Regions from separate parts of the Homo sapiens genome. Here all the other regions are linked to region 5. The links are contacts of gene promoters, found by promoter capture Hi-C in blood cells and fetal thymus (Javierre and others, 2016). All regions are on one chromosome and are shown on one strand. Each heading gives the region's core, a stretch centred on a gene start or on the middle of the fragment in contact. The rest is flanking DNA. Distances are from core to core; before and after follow the strand shown.

Region 1 (2,882 bases), core at 100-2,599, 4.7 Mb after region 5:
CTCCTCCCACATGCCCACCTCTTAGTTTCTCCATAATTAAGCCTGCTTGGAGTGATTACCATACTTCATTCCCTTCCAAAATATATTTTTTCTTCTATTTCCTCCACCACAAAACTTAGTAATTTATAGACTCATTGCTTTAAAAATAACCTTTCGGCCTTAGCACACCTTAGACATTTAAGAAAATGCTGGCTTATCTGATAAGTGGGGAAAAAAGTGTCAAGAAAAAAATGCTCATTAGATGCAAGGAGTGCTTCCAATTAGGTAGTTAAATATGCTGAATCCTGTAAATCTTTGTATAGCAACACATGGCAGATTATAACTGCTGGGATGACCCTTACATATAGTGAATATGAAATAGTCAAACAGTAAAGTCCTAGCTAGGTGGCTGGGTGGCACTCCGTTTTAAGTAATTTTTAAAACCAACCACAATATCCCCACTGGGAAATTTGCTACACAGAAAGTGGCCACTGTTTACAGCCATTGGTCACTCTCCAACCCAACAACTCATTTATTCTTCATAACTCTTATCAATATGCAGAAATATTTACTTGTATTATTATTATTTATTACATATGTTCCCTTACTAGAATTTAAGCTTCAAGAAAAAAAGAACCTTGACCATGACTAGATCCTTAGGAACTAAATAAATATTTGTTGAAAGAATAAATGAATCTAAAACCCAAGCCTTTGACAGTACCCCATAATTAAAGCCAGAGATAATTATAGAATCCCATTCTTCTTAGCTACTGAGAAAATTTTAGAAGATACTTTATCAATGTATATGTATAATACATATATTATATACAAATATATGCACATTTTACATAAAGACCAGAAAATATGATGGTATAACTTAATGTTGAAGAGAAAGAAAGGGGCAAAGGGAAAGGCGGCTTTTTAGACACTAAGTAAAATTTGGCCACTTGGTAATTTTCCCTTAGGTAGGACCTCATCAGAAAGCCTACTTAATTTAATGCAGTTGAGATTTTTCCAGGTGTCAGCCTTCATGCTGATGATATTTCTCAAAACTTCTTATTATATCTTTCAAAATAAGCAATTCCAACTTCTTTACTCATCCTTTAGGAGTCCTGTTGTTTCTTCTCTATTGGATCCAGCTATGAATTACTCTGGCACTTGAGATTTCACTTGCACCTTATATCAGAGACTGTGAAAGCAAATGCTTACAAGACCAGGAAGATAACAATAATGAGTGATACCTTGGTCTTTTTGTGAAAATGTTTTTCATTGTATGAATGAGGGGTATGTACCCACACAGAGTGGTGGAGGTTGCTATGTGTAGCTCCTGTCAATTGTTGTGATACCAGAATTAAGACCCTCCACCACCGGATCATCTAATATTTCAAGAGAATCCAGAAATCTGGATTGTATGAGAAAATTATAGTCTTCAGTTGGATTGATTTTTATAAACCACTTGAGGATACACAAGTTAGGTCTATGTATCCAGTGCAACATGCTATCAGTTGTTTTTCAATTCTAAAATAATGATACTCTGGTTACTTTTCTCAAGACATATGCAGACTTTGGCTCTCTAAGACCTTTGACTAGCTGTGTTAGGACACATTAGTCTACCAGACTGTGTGGGGCAAGCAACATATCATGCAGCACCCTCGTTTAATAGTGATTACAGCAGTTTCACCCAGCTCATGTAAATGCCTAAGACAGTCCTGGCTATTGGCAATACTGTAGAATATTAGAATGACCTTGCCTTTCGTCTGGGTCATACACTGATTTTATATACATATATGAGTTTTCTGTGTTGGTTCCTTATTACAGACCTTCTTGCCTTCTTTTCAGCTTGTTGGCATTTGAGCCAATGCTATGGCCCAGCCATGTTATAAAATCATAATGATTCCCAATTACCTAATATGTGAAGTGTTGGGTACTTTTTCCCTTCAGGGTTTTTCATAGCTAGTAATGTAATAAACTATGTTCAATTTGGCCCATTCATTGTACTTGAAGAGGATGATATATATTCCATACCTGAACTATTGATTATTCATTAAAATTCAGCCCTTCCTTTTCCCCTGATTAATTCCTGTCAGTTTAATTTCTCTTCTTCTATTACAATAAGCTTTCAATTGTTTCCTGACCACAAGTCTCATGCTCATTTTGCCAGTCATTCAAACATATGCCCAAATAACTATTTAAAATCTATGTTTCTATCATAATCAGATAATATTCATAGTTACTTATCTGTAGGATAACATCTATGTATCAAAGCATGTGATATTATAAGAACAAAATATTTAAAATGGTGCTTTTTGCCACTTTCTCAAACAATCTAATATTTAGTCCCAATTCTGCAGAGACCACTTGCTTTCACACCTCTCTGGCTTTACCATGTTTACACTATTCTTTTCAGCTATCCATACCCATTGTATCTTTTGAACACTGACCAAACAGCAATTCTATTTGACCATTTCCTCAACAATTCCAGATAGTATTGTTTTCCTTACCTGTGCTATTTACTTTTATGATAGCATTCAACATATCTTTTTAGATTTTTTATTTTTCCTTATATTTGCTTGGGATCTTAAAGTAGATGGGGACCATGTGTTCATTTATATAGAACCACTACTCTAGTGCTGAAACTACAAAATAGGAGGCATTTATTAAAATATTTTCATATAAATAAATAATTTCATGACTCTTTAGTAATAAAGCATAAGGACTAAGAGGTAGGATTTGGAAAACAAAAAGAATTGAGTTCAAATTCCATATCTGATATTTTTAGCTGGGAAATTTTAAGCAAGTCAAATTACCTGCCTTGGCCTTAGTTTCTTCTTTGAAATATACTATTAAGAAAATGAAGAGGAAATCCAGAGCCTGCAAGAAAATATTTGGAACACATATGCAGA
Region 2 (2,799 bases), core at 261-2,760, 3.8 Mb after region 5:
AGTGCAACGGCGGGATTTCGGCTCACTGCAACCTCTGCCTCCCGGGTTCAAGCAATTCTCCTGCCTCAGCCTCCTGAGTAGCTGGGATTACAGGCAGGCACCACCACACCCGGCTAATTTTGTATTTTTAGTAGAAACGGGGTTTCTCCATGTTGGTCAGTCTGGTTTCGAACTCCCAGCGTCAGGTCATCTGCCTGCCTCGGCCTCCCAAAGTGCTGGGATTACAGGCGTGAGCCACCGCGCCCAGCCACTTCTGTATTTTTAAAAAAGTGGTAAGATTTGAGTATTATACTGGGATAGAACTGAAGTTGGGGGCTTAATTTGATCTATCAGCTTATTGAAAACAAAGACCTTTTAAGAGATGGTTTTGTTAGGTTGGAGAAGTGAGTTTTAGTTCGTCATTTAGTTAGCCAGTATGTTGATTTTTTTGGTGAAGTGTACTCTCTGTTTCACACCTGTCAGCTTTTTTAATATTGGATTTTCTCAAAATTCACATAACAATCACACTGTATGAGTACTGTTTTGAAGGTTGTCTGCTAGTCAGAATGAATGGAGATCAATGTGTAGGACACCTTTACTGATATCCAGAGGTTTACCAAAAGACAAGTCACCAAATGTGGCAGAAAAACATGATAAAATTTATTAGGAAAAACTAAAGCTTATGGAGTGAACAGTTATTTCAGGTTGGTGGAATTAGGCAAGAATCCAAGAAAGGAAGACAGTTTTATATGGGAGACTTTGTTAATGGTGGTCATTGTGCTAGATATTTTGGAGATAGTATTTTATTTAATCCTCATGCAAGCCATTGATATTGGTGGCATTGTCTCTAACAAGTGAGAAAACTAAGACTCAGTAAGGTTAAATAATTTGTCCAGGGTCACTATGGTGGTGCCTGCTGGATTACATTAATGGACAGATTCAAACCTAGGTCTGTGATATTTCAAAGTCCATACACTTCATTGTATCATAGGACAGTAGTTGACGGCGTTTTAAATGGATCTTGAAAGAGGGGTGAAGGTCTTCTTTATCAAAACAAACAAAAATAGTAAAAGTAACATAGAATGTTTGAAAATAGAAAAAAGAAAATATCTAACCACCTTCAAATCAGTTTCTGTACAGTCTTACATGTACATACTTTGTAGTGTTTTTTGAAATTATAAAACACTACATGCTTTAAAAAAAATGCACATTATAAAGGGCATTAAAGAAAGGAAGCCCACTCTTCCCATCCTGAAAACACATACCTTCCTAAGGGGTAAACACTGTTGAGAACAATTGGAAGCATGTATAAAGGTTTTTTTCTTTTCCTTTTAAGTTATGTATATTTTGGTACATTCCATATCATTTTGCAGTTTTCTTGTTTTGATTCCTCAGTGGAGCATGAGCATGTATCTTCTTAACATGCAGATTCATGTCTTGGGATTTTTGTGAAATGAGTTCATACTTGCAAAGTACTTAAAACAATGCCTACCTCCTAGAATGCACTCAATAATTATTAGCTGATGTATTTGTTATCTGTTTACTCTATTTCATTTTGTTAACGTTTAGCAAGTATTATATAGTTTGGGTATAGCGTAGTTTATTTTTGTAACCACTTAAATTATCCAACATTTTTGCTACTGGAAATAATCCTTGCTTAACTGTATGGGTTTTTCTGTAAGATATATTTCTTTTCTTTTCATTCTTTTTTTTTTTTTTTTGAGACAGAGTTTCACTCTTGTTGCCCAGGCTGGAGTGCAATGGTGCCATCTCGGCTCACCTCAACCTCTGCCTCCAGGGTTCAAGCGATTCTTCTGCCTCAGCCTCCCGAGTAGCTGGGATTACAGGCATGCACCCCCAAGCCCGGCTACTTTTGTATTTTTAGTAGAGAAGGGGTTTCTCCATGTTGGTCAGGCTGGTCTCGAACTTCTAACCTTAGGTGATCTGCCCGCCTGGGCCTCCCAAAGTGCTGGGATTACAGGTGTCAGCCACTGCGCCCGAACTGTAAGATACATTTCTAGAAATGAAATTTCCAGGTCAGAGGATAAACATTTTTAATTTACTAAGATATTGTTAACATCTAAAAATGTGACAGTTTACCATTGTCCCTGTGTATGAGAGTGCTCGTTTCTTCACATCCTTGCTTATATCAGATATTATTACTCTTTTGCATATTACATGAAATAATGGGGAATACACAGTTCTACCTAGTTTGAGCATAGTGTACAGAGATTATTGTATCTTATTTTTCAGTGTAACATTTATTTTTATATGGACAGGAATTTAACCAAATTCCTGTCCATATAAAAATAGGGGGTCCCATTTAGGGGAAAAATAGGGGTCCCATTTAGAAGGCAAAACTTCAGGAGAAAAAGAAGCTTATTCCTGGAATAGCAGATGGCACATTGTTATTACAGTATAGGGAAAAAAAATTCTTGAAATTTTGGTTGTGTAGAAAAGTATAAAATATTAAATGTCGAGTGCCTTTGCTTCTTAATCTAATAATTCTTGGGAAGCTGCTGAGTGTTTTGCGGGGAGAGGAGAGGTATAATGAGAATTGTACCTTAGGAAAATAATCCTGTGTTGAGGAGATACAGAAACAGGGAGACCAGTTGAAAGTGTTTTATTAATCTGAGTGAAGGTAATGAAGTCTTCATGCTTGGAGGTGGTGGCAGAAAGGAAAACACTAGACAAATGTAATAGAATGGAAAGTAGAAGAGAGTTGCAAGAGGGATAGGTAGAGTGCAGAATTGGTGGAGGTAGAATCTGCAGAGCTTGTGTGGAAGTTGGGGACCAAAAGAGTGTTTGGAATCCAATCCT
Region 3 (2,773 bases), core at 39-2,538, 3.5 Mb after region 5:
TGACAGACACAGAGCTATCATGCTGAACAGGGAAAACCTGAAAGCCTTTCCTCAAAGATCTGGAACAAGACAAAGATGCCCACTTTCGCCACTCTTATTCAACAAAGTACTGGAAAGTACCAACTAGAGCAATTAAGCATGAGTAAGAAATAAAAGGCATGCAAATTAGAAAACAGGAAGTCAAAACTGTCCCTCTTTACAGATGACATGACCTTATATAGAGAGAACCCTAAATACTCCACCAAAAAACTATCAGAATGGAAGCAAATTCACTGAAGTTGCAGGATACAAAAATCAGTACCATTTCTATATGCCAACAGCAAATATCTGAAAAAGAAACCAAGAAAATAATCCCACTTACAATAGCTACAGATGTAATACCTAAGAATAAACTTAAAGAAGTGAAAGATGTCTACAGACTACAAAACATTGATGACACGAATTGAAGAGGACACACACACAAATGGGAAGATATTTCATGTTCATAAATTGGAAGAATCAATACTGTTAAAATTTTAATACTACCAAAAGCAATCTACAGATTCAATGCAGTTACTATCAAACTACAAATGACATTCCTCACAGAATTTTTTCTTTTAAATCCTAAAACTTATATGGAACCACAAGAGCCAGAACAGCCAAAGCAATCCTGAGCAAAAAGAACAAGGCTGGAGGCTGGGCACAGTGACTCACGCCTGTAATCCCAGCACTTTGGGAGGCCAAGGCGGGCGGATCACCTGAGGTCAGGAGTTCAAGACCAGCCTGGCCATCAAAGTGAAACCCCGTCTCTACTAAAAATACAAAAATTAGCCAGGCGTGGTGGTGGGACCTGTAATCCCAGTTCCTCGGGAAACTGAGGCAGGAGAATCACTTGAACCAGGGAGGCAGAGGTTGCAGTGAGCCAAGATTGCGCCACTGCACTCCAGCCTAGGCGACAGAGCTAGACTCTGTCTCAAAAAAAAAAAAAAAAAAAAAAAAAAAAAAAACGAGGCTTGGAGGAATCACATTACTTCACTTCAAATTATACTACAAAGTGATAGTAACCAAAACAGCATAATACTGGTATAAAAACAGATACATAGACAATAGAGCACAATAGAGAACCCAGAAATAAATCCATGCATTTACAGTCAACTCATTTTTGACAACGGCACCGAAGTATACATTGGGAAAAGGATAGTCTCCTAAATGGTGCTAGGAAAAGTGGATATCCATATACAGAAGAATAAAATTATACCCCTACCTCTTGCCATGTACAACAATCAAATCAAAATGGATTAAAGACTTAAATCTAAAACCTGAAACCACAAACGACTAGAAGAAAACATTGGGAATACACTCTAGGACATTAGTCTGAACAGATTTATTTATTTATTTATTTATTTTGAGACAGAGTCTCCCCGTCACCCAGGCTGGAGTACACTACTGTACTATGTATGTCGCCTGGGCGACAGAGCGAGACTCTGTCTCAAAAAATAAAAAATAAAATAAAATAAAAGTGGAATTGGCATGTTCCTAACACAAAGAAATGATAAAAGTTTGAGGTAATGGATACCCCAGTATCCCTGATTTATTATACACTGTATACCTGTATCAACATATGCTTGTATCAAAATATCAGATGTACCTGATAAATATCTGTATCTACTTTGTACCCATAGTAATTAAAAAATTTAGAAGTCCTAACCAGAGTAATCAGACAAGAGAAAGGAATAACGAGCATGCAAATTGGAAAAGAGGAAATCAAACTGCCACTGTTTGCCAATGATATGACTGTATACCTAGAAAACCCTAATGACGCATCCAAAAAGCTCCGAGATCTGATAAACGATTCAGTAAAGTCTCAGGATACAAAATCAATGACACAAATCAATAGCACTGCTATATTCCAGCAACGACAAAGCTGAGAATCAAATCAAGAACTCAATCCCTTTTACAATAGCTGCAAAAAAAACAAAACACCTAGGAATACACTTAACCAAGGAAGTGAAAGATCTTTACAAGGAAAAGTACAAAACACTGTTAAAAGAAATCATAAATGACACAAAGGGAAACACATCCCATGTTCATGGAAGGGAAGAATCAACATTGTGAAAATGACTATACTGACCAAAACAATCTATAGATTCAATGCAATTCCCATCAAAATACCAGCATCATACTTCACAGAACAAGAAAAAACAATCCTAAAATTCATATGGAACCAAAAAAGAGCCCACATAGCCAAAGCAAGACTAAGCAAAAAACAAATCTGGAGGCATCACATTACCCGACTTTAAATTATACAAAAGGCTACAGTTACCAAAACCGCATGGTACTGGTATAAAAATAGGCATGAAGACCAATGGAACACAACAGATAACCCAGAAATAAAGCAAAATACTTATAGCCGCCTAGGCATGCCTGTAATCCCAGCATCTTGGGAGGCCAAGGCGGGTGGATCACCTAAGGTCAGTAGTTTGAGTCCAGCCTGGCCAACATAGAGAAAACTCGTCTCTACTAAAAATACAAAAAAGTTAGCCAGGCATGGTGGTGTGTGCCTGTAATCCCAGCTACTTGGGAGGCTGAGGCAGGAGAATGGCTTGAACCTGAGAGGCAGAGGTTGCAGGGAGCCAAGATCATGCCATTGCACTCCAGCCTGGGAAACAAGAGCAAAATTCCATCTCAAAAAAAAAAAAAAAAAAAAATCAGCAGAGTAAACAGACAACCCATACAGTTGGAGAAAATATTTATGAACTGTGCATCTGACAAAGGACTAGTACCCAGAATCTAC
Region 4 (3,093 bases), core at 490-2,989, 3.7 Mb after region 5:
TATTTACCAACACGTGAACAGCAGGGAAAGACCTGCCCCCCATGATTCAATTACCTCCCACCGGGTCTCTCTCACAACATGTGGAAATTCAGGATGAGATTTGGGTGGGGACACAGCCAAACCATATCAGTGGGTATACAATGATCTCTTTGAGATCATACTTTCAATTCTTTTGAGTACATGCCCAGTAGTAGAATTGCTGGATCATATAGTAATTCTATTTTTAACTTTTTGAGTAACCACCATAATGTGTTCAACAGTGGCTGTAACATTTTATCTTCCCATCAACAGTGCACAAAGATTTCAGTTTCTCCACATCCTTACCAACACTTATTTTCTATTTTTTGTTTTTTTTATAGTAGCCATCCTGGTAGATGTGAGATGGTATCTCAATGTGTTTTTGATTTTCATTTCCCTAATGGGTAGTGATGTTGAACATTTTTTTATGTGCTTACTGGCCATTTGTAAATCTTTTGGAGACATGTCTATTTAAGTCCTCTGCCTACTTTTGAATTTTTGTTGTTGTTGTTGAGTTTTAGATTAGTTCATTACATATTCTAGATATTAATCCCTTATCAGATGTATGATTTTAAAATATTTTCCCCCATTCTGTAGGCTGTCTTTTCATGCTATTGATAGTGTCCTTTGAAGCACAAAAGTTTTACATTTTAATGAAATCCAATTAATCTATTTGCTTTTTGCCTGTGTCTTTGGTGTCATATTCATTGCCAAATTCAATATCATGAAGTTTTGCCCTATATTTTCTTCTAAGAATTATATAGTTTTAGCTCTTTTGTTAGGTCTATGATTCATTTTGAATTAATTTTTGTATATGGGGTTAGGTTAACAGTCCATTTTCATTATTTTGCATGTGGCTATTCAGTTTTCCCAGCACTATTTGTTGAAAAGACTGTCCTTTCCCCACTGAATGGTCTTAGTACTGTTGTTGGAAAACATTTGACTATATATACTGGGGTTTATTTCTGGGCTCTCTATTCTATTTCATTTGTCTATCTATATATCTGTCTTTATGCCAGTACCACACTGTTTCAATTACCAAAGTTTTGTAGTAAGTTTTAAAATCAGGAAATGTGAGTCCTCCAATGTTGTTCTTCTTTTTCAAGATTGTTTTAGCTGTTCAGGGTCCCTTAAGATTCCACATGAATATTAAAACTAATTTTTCTATTTCTGTAAAAAAAAAGTCAATCTGTAGATCACTTTGGGTAGTACTGACATTTTGACAATATTAATCTTCTAATCCATGAACCATGGGATGGTTTTCCATTTATTTATGTCTTTCTTAATTTCTTTTAGCAATGTTTTATAGTTTTCAGTGTACAGGTCTCCTTTTGGTTTGTGAATTCCTAAGTTTTTAAATGCTATTTTAAATAGAATTGTTTTCTTAATTTCCTTTCAGATTACTCATTGTTAGTGTATCAAAATGCAATTGATTTCTGTGCATTGACTTTGTATCCTGCTGCTTTGCTGAATTCATTTATTCTAACTGTGTGTGTGTGTGTGTGTGTGTGTGTGTGTGTGTGTGGTATCTTAGTTTCCTACATATCACATCTGTGAACAGAGATAATTTTACTTGTTCCTTTTCAATTTGGATGAAGCTTTCATTTATTTGTCTTGATCAATTGTTCTGTCTAGGACTTTCAATATGTTGAATAGAAGTGGTGGAAGTGGTTATCCTTGCTTTGTTCCTGACCTTAGAAGAAAAGTTTTCAGTCTTTCACTGTTGAGTATGATGTTTGCTGTAGATTTTTTTACATATGGCTTTTATTAGGTTGAGGTAGTTTTCTTCTAGTTTGCTGAGTGTTTGTATCATGAAATGATGTTGAATTTTGTCAAAAGCTTTTTCTGCATCAATTGAGATGATTCTTTATTTTTTATGTTTAATTTTTTTTTTTTTTTTTTGAGACAGAGTTCTCACTCTGTTGCCCAGGCTGGAGTGCAGTGGCGTGATCTTGGCTCACTGCGACCTCTGCCTCCCGGGTTCAAGTGATTCTCCTGCCTCAGCCTCCTAAGTAGCTGGGACTACAGGTGTGTGCCACCACACCTGGCTAATTTTTGTATTTTTAGTAGAGACAGGGTTTCACCATGTTGGCCAGGTTGGTCTTGAACTCCTGACCTCAAATGATCCGCCTGCCTCGGCCTCCCAAAGTGCTGGGAATACAGGTGTGAGCTACAGTGCCTGGCCTCTTTATTTTTTAAAGAATACATATTTTCTTTTCCTTTTTGAAGTATCACAGGAAAGGGCTTGATTTTGCTATATCTTATAGCAGCATGGTAAATTTATGGTTAGCATAGTGCTAACCATGATGCATTTACTGTCTTTTCAAAAGCTTTAACTTTGGTTAGTTTTTTTTTTTTCCTCAGTTTTGAATAGGAATTGATTTGACAGCTGATTTTGTGTGTCCTTTGCCCAGCTCAGAAGGGTGGAAAACAAACCTGTCAAAACAAAGCTCTCAGAGTGGCAAAATTCCTAAGAATGCATCAGGTATCCTGACCTAACAATTAAATGTCTGTCCTACTAGAGGGTGAGCTTATTGAGAGGAGAAAATATCTTTTCTCCGGAATCCCCAGCACCTAAAACATTGCCTGTTGTATAGAAAACACTCAATAACATCTTGAGAAGGAATCCAAGAACAGTGTGTCTCTTGCCCTTTCTTCCCTGTCCTTTCCCCAAGAGAGAATACATCAAAATCAGTAACTTCCATATAGTTAATTTACTGTGAAGTATAAATATGAAAACATTCAAGTTCTACAAATAGTGCAAAAGTGAGCAGTTATGACATTTGACAAACTATTGTTGAATTGAAAGGTTTAGAGTTTGGTATTAAGAAAGGACTGTACTCTCTCATGTACTCCATGTCATAATTGATTGCTTTCTTTTTCCAAAGCTATATAGACTCATGTATTATCCACTTCTTCTTCTTTTTTTTTTTTTTGAGACGGAGTTTCGCTCTTGTTGCCCAGGCTGGAGTGCAATGGCGCGATCTTGGCTCACCGCAACTTCCGCCTCCCAGGTTCAAGCAATTCTCCTGCCTCAGCCTCCCGAGTAGCTGGGATTACAGGCATGCACCACCA
Region 5 (2,930 bases), core at 377-2,876:
GTAGTTTAAAAACATTCACCAACAGAGAAATCGTTCTTCAAGGTGCATATTTCCTTTGTGCTTTATCTTTGTAATAATGTTCAATGGGAGAAGTCTATTTTTAAACATAAATTATACGGATTTTAAAAACCATCAGAAAAGAAACACAAATCAACAGTAAAAGAATCACTATGCTAAGGAAGAGCTCTGGTCAATGCTTATTAAAAGTTACTTTAATAATTATATCGCACATTCTAATTTTGTCTAATCTGATACACGATGACCTGATGTACTTAAATTGAGCCATATATAATTTTTTTTTTTTAATTTGCAGGCATAAGTGACATTTAAACTGATCAAAATTGGTCTTTCTTCTAATTCAGTAACTCTCAACTTGGGCTGCACATTAACATTAAAATCACCTAGGGAAACTTTAAAACCACTGAGTCTTGCACCATCGCTATTCCTATTTTAATGAAGAGAAATCTAAAATATCTTTGGATATAAAGCAAAACAAAGTAATTGTGTAAATTCCTACACAGGTACTCTTAACAGCCCTAAAAAATTGTTCCCTAAAAGATGTCATCGGGAAATTTTTATGAAAAGCCTCTTTTTCTAGTTGAAATTCTGCATTTAATTTACGCAAGTCACCAATGTAGCTTCTCCTCTATTTTAATGAACGATTTAACATTGGCTTATAAATGAAGTAGGACTTTAAAAAATCCCTTGATGCACATTTGTAAGAATACTCTTGAGTCCAGGAGAAATAACCCCAAATTCAAAAAAGTTGTGAGGCTCTCAGGATGGATCCGAAAACTCAATATAACTAAGCTAATTTCCATTCTTCTGCTTTGTCGTTCTCACTTGCCCTTTTCTGCAGTGCTATGACTAATCCAGACTCGAGCCGATTAAAACTCCACTTCGCAGAGCAGATATTTTGATAAAAAAGAGGTAGGATGGGGGAGCTCTCATCACACAAGTCCATCTTCCCCACTCGTTTCCATTTTACTCTTGTCAGCGCTCCCCCTCCCCGGTCACTTCCCAAATGCCTTCCCGGGAGACTCCGGAGGGGCGCGCCCTTACCAGTCGCCCCTTATCTGACAGGACCCGCACAGACTGAGCCCCGAAGTACTTCAGCAAGTCCTCTTTCTCCTCAGCAGTAAGCTCAGCCGGCAGGTGCCTGACCAGAAGGGTTCGGTCGCCCCGAGGCGGGGAAAGCGAGGAGGAGCTCGTGCATCCCCTTGATATCGCAAGCGGCTGCTCGGGAGCTGCCATTTTCCTTGGAGAAGCAAAAACAGAAATCGTGGGAAGAAGTCTCAGTCAAAATCGCGGCATCAACACAAGCTGGGAGAAATATTTTTTCCGCCTCGCGCTAAGGATTCTGGAAACCAGGAAATACCGAGAAAGAAAGTCACCTTCTCGCGAGAACTGCGCCACCGAAAAGCGGCAACCCTTCGAAGACTCTTCGGGGAAGGGCGCGGTGCTAATGATTTAAATTCCAGGGGTCTCCGGAAAGACTTACAAGCAAAAATTGGCCCAGAGATGTGCGAGGGTTAACACAAGTTGTCAATCAAAGAAGGAAACAGGAACCCCAGCCACTTCAGGGAAAGAAGGTTGACGCTCAAGGACAAGAGGACTCACGACTGCGCATGTGCGGGCTGGGACCGTCACAGGGCGGGGCGGGGCGCACGGCGGGGCGGGGCGCACGGCGGGGCGGGGCGCACGGCGGGGCGGGGCGCACGGCGGGGCGGGGCGCACGGCGGGGCGGGGCGCACGGCGGGGCGGGGCGCACGGCGGGGCGGGGCGCACGGCGGGGCGGGGCGCACGGCGGGGCGGGGCGCACGGCGGCGAGCGCTATCTGGAGCTGACCGTGCGGCTCTTAATCCCTGGCCTTGGGAAAGTGAATTGGCCTGAATAGCAAGGAGGAGAACTTGGGTGTGGAAATACCGGGTATGTTCTTACAGTATTTAGATGGTAAAATATAAAGCTAGCCAGTTATTCTGTCAACTCATTAGACACCATTGTAGGGAGGAGAACTCAGTTTAAGGGGCAAAACGTTGAGAGTTCAGACTTTTTTCTTGAATCAGTAGGCATTTAGCAGACGGATAGGCCCCTGCCAGGGTTCATTTCGCAGAAATGGCAGCCTCTAGGGAGAGGTAACCTAATAAATAAATTATTGCATGTGTGTGTATGTGTGTGTGTGTAGGGGTGTGTGTGTGTGTGTGTGTGTATGTGTGTGTGTGTGTAGGTGTAGGTACTTTTCTCCCTATTTTACAGCTGAGGACACTGATGTACAAAGAGGTTAAATCACACAGCTAGAAAGTGGAAGAACTAAGTTTTGACCCTTGGTGTTCTGACTGGGGGTCTACATTCTAATCCACTGTTCTGCCTAGATTCTGAATGGAGTGAGGCAGGGATCATCCCCGGAGGGTCAGGAATGTACCCCTCACCCCATACAGAGAGGGCCTTGAGGATTCTAAAGAGAGGTTTTATGCTAGATGTAGCTGCTACAGTCTGGAGAACCAGAGTTCCTCTTACAGTTCTTTTTGCCACTTAAATAAATGTTAGAGATACAGCAGTAAGCAGTATACCAGCAATCTGCTGTCATCCCGCATTGGTTGGGGAAAAGGAGAGAGACAGATATTAATGAAAACTAGAAGACAAACATGAGAAGAACCTTCCCCACACACCCACCAAAATATCAGATAGGTAGAGCCAGACCACGTAGACGCTGTAGATTTGTTAGGAGCCCTTTTTATTTGAGGAACATTTAGAAACTGACAAATTCTTTAAGTAGGTGTGTGTTGAGGGGAGAGAATCAAAGTTTAGGTATGAAAATTTCTCCGGTTGCAATGCAAAAAACAGAAGCAGAAAGACCAGTTGGACTACTGTAGAAGTCTGGAGAAAAACACTACCATAATAGTTTGGTGAAAGTGGACATGTAGAGAAGG
Region 6 (2,880 bases), core at 46-2,545, 3.4 Mb after region 5:
CTCAAGTGATCCGCCTGCCTTGGCCTCCCAAGGTGCTGGGATTGCAGGCCTGAGCCACCACGCCCGGCCAGCCTTTCCGTTTTTATTCATTCTTCTACTTGTGTCTCCTACGCTCTCAGGCCTGGCTAGGATTTCTGACTTCATACTGTTGGAGTCTGAGCTATGATTTGGAGTCCATTGCTAGAATTTAAAGGTCTGGTAGGGCAGGCTTAAATCAAATTCTAAAATTTAGTTCTGACAGCATTATCTCAGATAAGATATGACTAGCAATCCCCCCAACCCTTGATATATTTGTTAAGGCTTTCTTCTACCTACTTCTTTTTCCTCATTTTTATTATTATCTTAGATTTATGTATTTTTTATGTATTATAATTTTGTTTTCACAATAGTTTAATCCACCCAGACCAGTCACTGCTTTTATTTTCATTGCTAACTTCAGATCCAGGTTTATTTTTTCTTAAATAATGAGACAAATAAACATTTATGAAAAAATATTGTATAAAAGATAAAATTGAGGACTTTGAAACTGGTATTACAAACTCTATCAAATTAGGTCTGGGCTACTCTAAAAATAAGTTGGCTGTGTTGCTTAGGCATGTGCTCTTTTTAGCCATAGCCTTATTATTGCCAGTAGCTATGGAGAATTCTCAGTTAAATGAAAATTAAGCCTGAGTTTTTATGCCTGGAATACTGTTATGTAAAGAGTACTTAGATGCATATAACTGGCTCTTCTTGCATTGCTTATTAAGGAGAATTAGATATGTGCATTCGAAGGAATGTCTATTGTTTTATTATCAGTTTCAGTATACTCAAGTGTCGTTGTATCTTGGGATCATTTTTTTTCTTTAGAATTATAAGTGAATTCACAGTTGTTTTTTATTTAAACAACTTTCCAGGAATATATATATAATGTCCAAAATGAGGACAAGTACTACTAGAGACAGTTGCCTACTTGGTAGGACTAAAGATGGCTTATAAAATAATACTATCATTCTTATAGGTCTTGTGGAATCAGAGGAATCATTATAATAATTATGTTCTTAAATACAGGAGCAAGACTTTCAGTGTTTCCTGTATCGGTGATCTCCATATTCTTTTAATTATGTATCCCTAACAGGGAAAAAAAAAAACCCTAAAACAGAACAATTTGCGCTCTCATCTCAAATACATTAATGTGTATTTATTTGTGAATTTATGCATATACTACTGAAATACTATATGCCGTATAATTATTGGTTAAGAAGGCGGAATCTGATGTTAGGATTTAAAACCTGCCTCTATCAACCTGAAGTTGATCAAGCCACTGAAAAACAAACAACATTCAACTCTTACACTTCAGTTTTCCCACTTATAAAATGGAGTGATAATTTTCTCTACCTTACTGGATTATTGAGTTAAGTGAATTAATGCATTTGCTTAGAATAGTACCTGGTTCATGATAAGTGCTCTGTAAATGTTATATTATTAATAATAAAATATATTCAAAAATAGAAATTAAAGAATCAGACTAAAAATGGATGTAAATGAAAGTTGTAAGATTTTCTTCTCAGACCTCAGTGAATGGTCCTAATTACTGCCTACTTTGTCCTCCCCGACTCAAAGACCCACTTTAAAGCACCAAATACCACCTACTTTGGTGATCATTGATCTAGGTAGTTTTGTGCTAGCAGCTATGTTGATTAAAACATGTACTTTTGAATTACAGTTTTTAAAAATGACGCTTTTATTTTTGACGTTGAACCTGTGATCTTCCTGATGTCTTAAAATGTTACTGTCAAGATTGAATACATTCAAGGATGTTTAACTGTGGGAATGTAAAATAACATGAGAAATTTGGCAAGAAACAAAATAATGCTGAAAGAATATGTGAGAATATTTAACAAGATTGTGCTGTTCTGACAAATAGAACAAATACTTGATAATTTTAAAGCAAGATACACAAAACTACGTGTTTTTTCTCTTTTATTTTTGGATACAATGATAGCCAAAGATTCATTCATTGAACAAGTATTTAATGAATGTCTGTTATCTGCTGTGGCCAGGCATAGTTTTAGTTGCAGGAGATGACAGCAGTGAACAAGACAAATGCCCTGACACTATGGTGCTTACATTTTGTGGTGAAACACCAGTAGATAGTAAATTGTAATGTCTTTCAAACTAAACTGTTTATTCATTCATTCATTTATTCATTTATTTTTGTGACAGAGTCTCACTCTGTCACCAAGGCTAGAGTGCAGTGGCATGATCTTAGCTCACTGCAACCTCCACCTCCCAGGTTCAAGCGATTCTCATGCCTCAGCCTCCCGAGTAGCTGAGATTACAGGTGTGCAGCACCACACCTGGCTAATTTTTGTATTTTTAGTAGAGACGGGGTTTCACCATGTTGGTCAGGCTGATCTCTAACTCCTGACCTCAAGTGATCCACCTGCCTCGGCCTCCCAAGTGGTGGGATTACAGGCATGAGCCTCTGTGCCTGGCTTGGGTTACATTCTTGATCTTCAAGGTCAAACTTTCATCAAGGAGATTATGAAGTATGTGAGGGATTTTCTGCAGTGAGGAACGGGCCAGATGATTGATTTATCTTTTTTCTTTTAATCTGGTTGAAAGGCTTAGGGAGACAATTCTGTTTACTGTTAAGGACCAAAAAACAAAGTCTGGAAATGCCGTACACAATGGTCATGAACTACAAAATAGTAGTGGAGTGGAGAGGAGACACAGTAATACACAGCATTATTTTGAGTGAGCTCCAGCTTTTCATTCTAACCCTTGAACCGAGGAGAAACAGCTGTCCTTTTTCATTGAGTCTGCAACAGAATGGAAATGTGACTCAGTTTATCAGCTCCCACAGAGCAGGCAGAGTAAGAGACTATTTTAAGCTGG
Region 7 (2,886 bases), core at 289-2,788, 3.5 Mb after region 5:
TAGACTCTGTTTTATGTGTCACTTCCTTTGGCTGGTTTTAATTTGTATTTCCTTTCTCTGTAATAAATATGACTGTGAGTATAATAGCTTTTAGTAAGTTTTCTCTTTCTAGCCAGAACTGAGGGTGAACTTGGGAAACCCCTGAATTTGCAATGACCAAAACACTCTCAGCCATAGCAGAAGCTCAAATCTTTGGTAATTGAAGGCAATTTATTTCTTCCTTGCTATTTTCTTTTCTAGAGTGTATATGTAATCGGTCCTGCCTTAAAGGAATTCTCTTTTTAAGAACAGTAAGAAAGACCAATATGGGCTGGGTGTGGTCGCTCACGCCTGTAATCCCAACACTTTGGGAGGCCAAGGCAGGCAGATCACTGAAGCTCAGGAGTTTGAGACCAATCCGGGCAACATGGCAAAACCCCATCTCTACAAAAAAATACAAAAATCAGCTGGGCATGGTGGCGCGCACCTGTATTCCCAGCTGCTTGGGGGCCGAGGCTCCTGGGAGGATCACTTGAGCTTGCTCTATCAAGGCTGCAGTGAGCCAAGATTGTGTCACCGCACTCCAGCCTAGGCAACGGGAGGAAGACCTTGTCTCAAAAACAAAAAACAAAAAACAAAACAGAAAAACACCCCAAAAAACCCCACCAGTATGATTACTAATGCTGGTCACTATCAGTCTCTTTTGAAAGGCAGTATTGGCCGGGCGCAGCGGCTCACGCCTGTAAACCCAGCACTTTGGGAGGCCGAGGCAGGCGGATCACCTGAGGTCAGGAGTTTGAGACCAGCCTGGCCAACATGGTGAAACCCTGTCTCTACTAAAAATACAAAAATTAGTTGGGCGTGGTGGCATGGCCTGTAATCCCAGTTACTAGGGAGGCTGAGGCAGGAGAATTGCTTGAACCTGGGAGGCAGAGGTTGCAGTGAGGTCACACCACTGCAGCCTAGGTGACAGAGCGAGACACCATCTCAAAAAAAAAAAAAAAAAAAAAAAAAAGGTAGTATTATCTATAAGATTCAGATTCTAAGATACTTTTGCATAGCAGTGGAACTTGAGGATTGTGATATATTTCCAACAAAAGAAGCACTGTAATACAAAAAAGATTATTAAATATTTTTAGTTAGTGCTTTTCATGAGAGGTTGCCAAAGAAAAATATACACTTTAAAAATGCTGGCACTTTAGTGATTTTTTTACAAAGTATTTTGTGTAAGGTTACTTCAGCAGTAGAGATAGGACTAAAATCCTGTATATTATCACAATTGATCTCCATGCATTCAATTGACAGTCACAATGGAAGCAATTATATTCAAATTATGAAGAAAATACATACCAAACTTCTATAATTACTTAACCTTGAGGCTAGCCTAGAGATATTTAAAACAAAAAATCTGTTAGGCTGTTATTAACATATAGAAAGATAAATTCTAACTAGCTTAAATAAACCCAGTCTTTTTTTGTTGTTTCAGTTTTTGTTTTGTTTGTTTTTTGAGACAGAGTCTCACTGTCACTCAGGCTAGAGTCCAGTAGTGTCATCATGGTTTACTGCAGCATCAAATTGCTGGGCTCAAGCAATCCTTCTGCCTCAGCCTCCTGAGTAGCTGGCCCCACAGGTGCATGCCCACATATTGGCTAATTTTATTTTTAAGATTTTTTGTAGAAACAAGGCTATGTTGCCCAGGCTGGCCTCAAATTCATGGGCTCAAGCGATTCTTCTGCCTTGGCTTCCTAAAGTGTTGGGATTACAGGAATGAGCCACTGCACCTGGCCAACCCAGTATTTCATGCTAGAATATGGGCTAGAGAAAAGGAAGAAAGATCACATGTGACAGTGATAGAGATACTACAGAGCCAGAGAAAAAGATCAGTAATTCATTTTTGATATATAAAGAGAGAAGACTAATTCATAGGTTAGGTCATAGACACAGGTAAATAGGAAAATAAGGAAATATAGAAAAAGATTTGTATAGAGTTCTTTATGAAAATAATCTATTTCAATAAATCTATTAAATAGGTAATAGCTGGATACCAAAAAATGACAAGAGAAGTTTATCAATTAAAAAGCCATTTAACAAAAGACCAATTTATACATTCCTTTGAATTATGTCCATAAAAAATTTAAATATACAAATTACATTATCAAACCCAAAAGAATCTTTCTAAACAAATGAAATACAGATATAGACAAAGTCAGGATCCAAATTATTTTAAAAAGTTTTTAAATTATTTTGTAATTACAAATGAAACAACAAACTGACAGTTTTATACAATTGTTAAAGTTTCAAAAAGTTCAATGATGGAGCAATAGTATCACAATTTATTTAAGTACTGTTCACAAATGTTTATGCTTTTGTAATATACCTATTTTAATTTTGTTAATGAATTTGAAGAGCTAATGTTGAAACAACCAAAAAAATAGAAATGTATTTATTCTTAAAAATCCTAATTTTGCCCATGTGTCTACAGTTGTGAATTACAGGAACACCCTCCAGAAAAATCAGGTATTTGGTAAAGCAAGGCACATAGGACCAGATTTTGATAAAGGTGCTTGTTCTCTGCTCCTATAACTACTTTAAATAACCTGGAGATTCTTAAGATGACTTTCAATATAGCATAAATAACTTTTATAAACCTTTTTTATGTAAAGCATACACCCATGATAATTAAATATTATAATGTGAATGTGTAAATCAAATGAGTGATGCTAAACCCTTTAAGAAAAAACCCAACTCAGTTTAATGACTATACAATGAAATTTTTAAAGTTCAATAATTTGATATGTAAGAATAATCAGTATTACAGTAAGTGTAGAGAACATAATTAGTTTCCTTTCAGATTATATCTTAGAATCTAAATATCAAGCTACCTTTCCTTCCATGAAATTATGTGAC

What was found. Contacts are between HindIII fragments. The CHiCAGO score rates a contact against its expected background, and 5 or more counts as called.
Region 1: a contact is called between a fragment that was not itself captured here and the fragment with the promoter of RNPC3 in region 5, in 1 of 17 cell types (total CD4 T cells). The highest score is 8.6, in total CD4 T cells.
Region 2: a fragment that was not itself captured here is called in contact with the fragment with the promoter of RNPC3 in region 5 in 1 of 17 cell types (total CD4 T cells); the score reaches 6.0 in total CD4 T cells.
Region 3: a contact is called between a fragment that was not itself captured here and the fragment with the promoter of RNPC3 in region 5, in 3 of 17 cell types (total CD4 T cells, non-activated CD4 T cells and fetal thymus). The highest score is 8.1, in total CD4 T cells.
Region 4: a fragment that was not itself captured here is called in contact with the fragment with the promoter of RNPC3 in region 5 in 1 of 17 cell types (naive B cells); the score reaches 5.4 in naive B cells.
Region 6: a contact is called between a fragment that was not itself captured here and the fragment with the promoter of RNPC3 in region 5, in 1 of 17 cell types (total CD4 T cells). The highest score is 5.8, in total CD4 T cells.
Region 7: a fragment that was not itself captured here is called in contact with the fragment with the promoter of RNPC3 in region 5 in 1 of 17 cell types (fetal thymus); the score reaches 6.5 in fetal thymus.

The regions. Positions count from the first base shown.
Region 1 is chr1:98,868,079-98,870,960 of GRCh38, reverse strand. No RefSeq gene overlaps it. Among named protein-coding and RNA genes, the nearest start is that of PLPPR5-AS1, 130 kb to the left of the region's middle. The HindIII fragment of the contact is 1,497 bases long and covers 601-2,097 here.
Region 2 is chr1:99,762,770-99,765,568 of GRCh38, reverse strand. All of the region lies in intron 1 of FRRS1 (ferric chelate reductase 1), which reads left to right. Among named protein-coding and RNA genes, the nearest start is that of FRRS1, 2.5 kb to the left of the region's middle. The HindIII fragment of the contact is 1,699 bases long and covers 661-2,359 here.
Region 3 is chr1:100,044,426-100,047,198 of GRCh38, reverse strand. All of the region lies in intron 1 of SLC71A1 (solute carrier family 71 member 1), which reads right to left. Among named protein-coding and RNA genes, the nearest start is that of SLC71A1, 7.7 kb to the right of the region's middle. RefSeq lists enhancers at 59-108, 139-218. The HindIII fragment of the contact is 4,393 bases long and covers 1-2,773 here.
Region 4 is chr1:99,837,396-99,840,488 of GRCh38, reverse strand. No RefSeq gene overlaps it. Among named protein-coding and RNA genes, the nearest start is that of AGL, 11 kb to the left of the region's middle. The HindIII fragment of the contact is 241 bases long and covers 1,619-1,859 here.
Region 5 is chr1:103,524,395-103,527,324 of GRCh38, reverse strand. RNPC3 (RNA binding region (RNP1, RRM) containing 3) reads right to left here and starts at 1,626. Exons shown (of 15, transcript NM_017619.4): 1 at 1,063-1,626. The coding sequence starts at 1,254. RNPC3-DT (RNPC3 divergent transcript) reads left to right here and starts at 1,817. Exons shown (of 4, transcript NR_168321.1): 1 at 1,817-1,929. RefSeq lists an enhancer at 1,175-1,414 and a silencer at 1,735-1,834. The HindIII fragment of the contact is 7,657 bases long and covers 1-2,930 here.
Region 6 is chr1:100,099,584-100,102,463 of GRCh38, reverse strand. All of the region lies in intron 14 of SASS6 (SAS-6 centriolar assembly protein), which reads left to right. Among named protein-coding and RNA genes, the nearest start is that of SASS6, 32 kb to the left of the region's middle. The HindIII fragment of the contact is 4,262 bases long and covers 1-2,880 here.
Region 7 is chr1:100,026,050-100,028,935 of GRCh38, reverse strand. It overlaps SLC35A3 (solute carrier family 35 member A3), which reads right to left. Exons shown (of 8, transcript NM_012243.3): 8 at 1-2,886. All of the region lies in intron 1 of LOC124904230 (a long non-coding RNA gene), which reads left to right. Among named protein-coding and RNA genes, the nearest start is that of SLC71A1, 11 kb to the left of the region's middle. The HindIII fragment of the contact is 3,323 bases long and covers 1-2,886 here.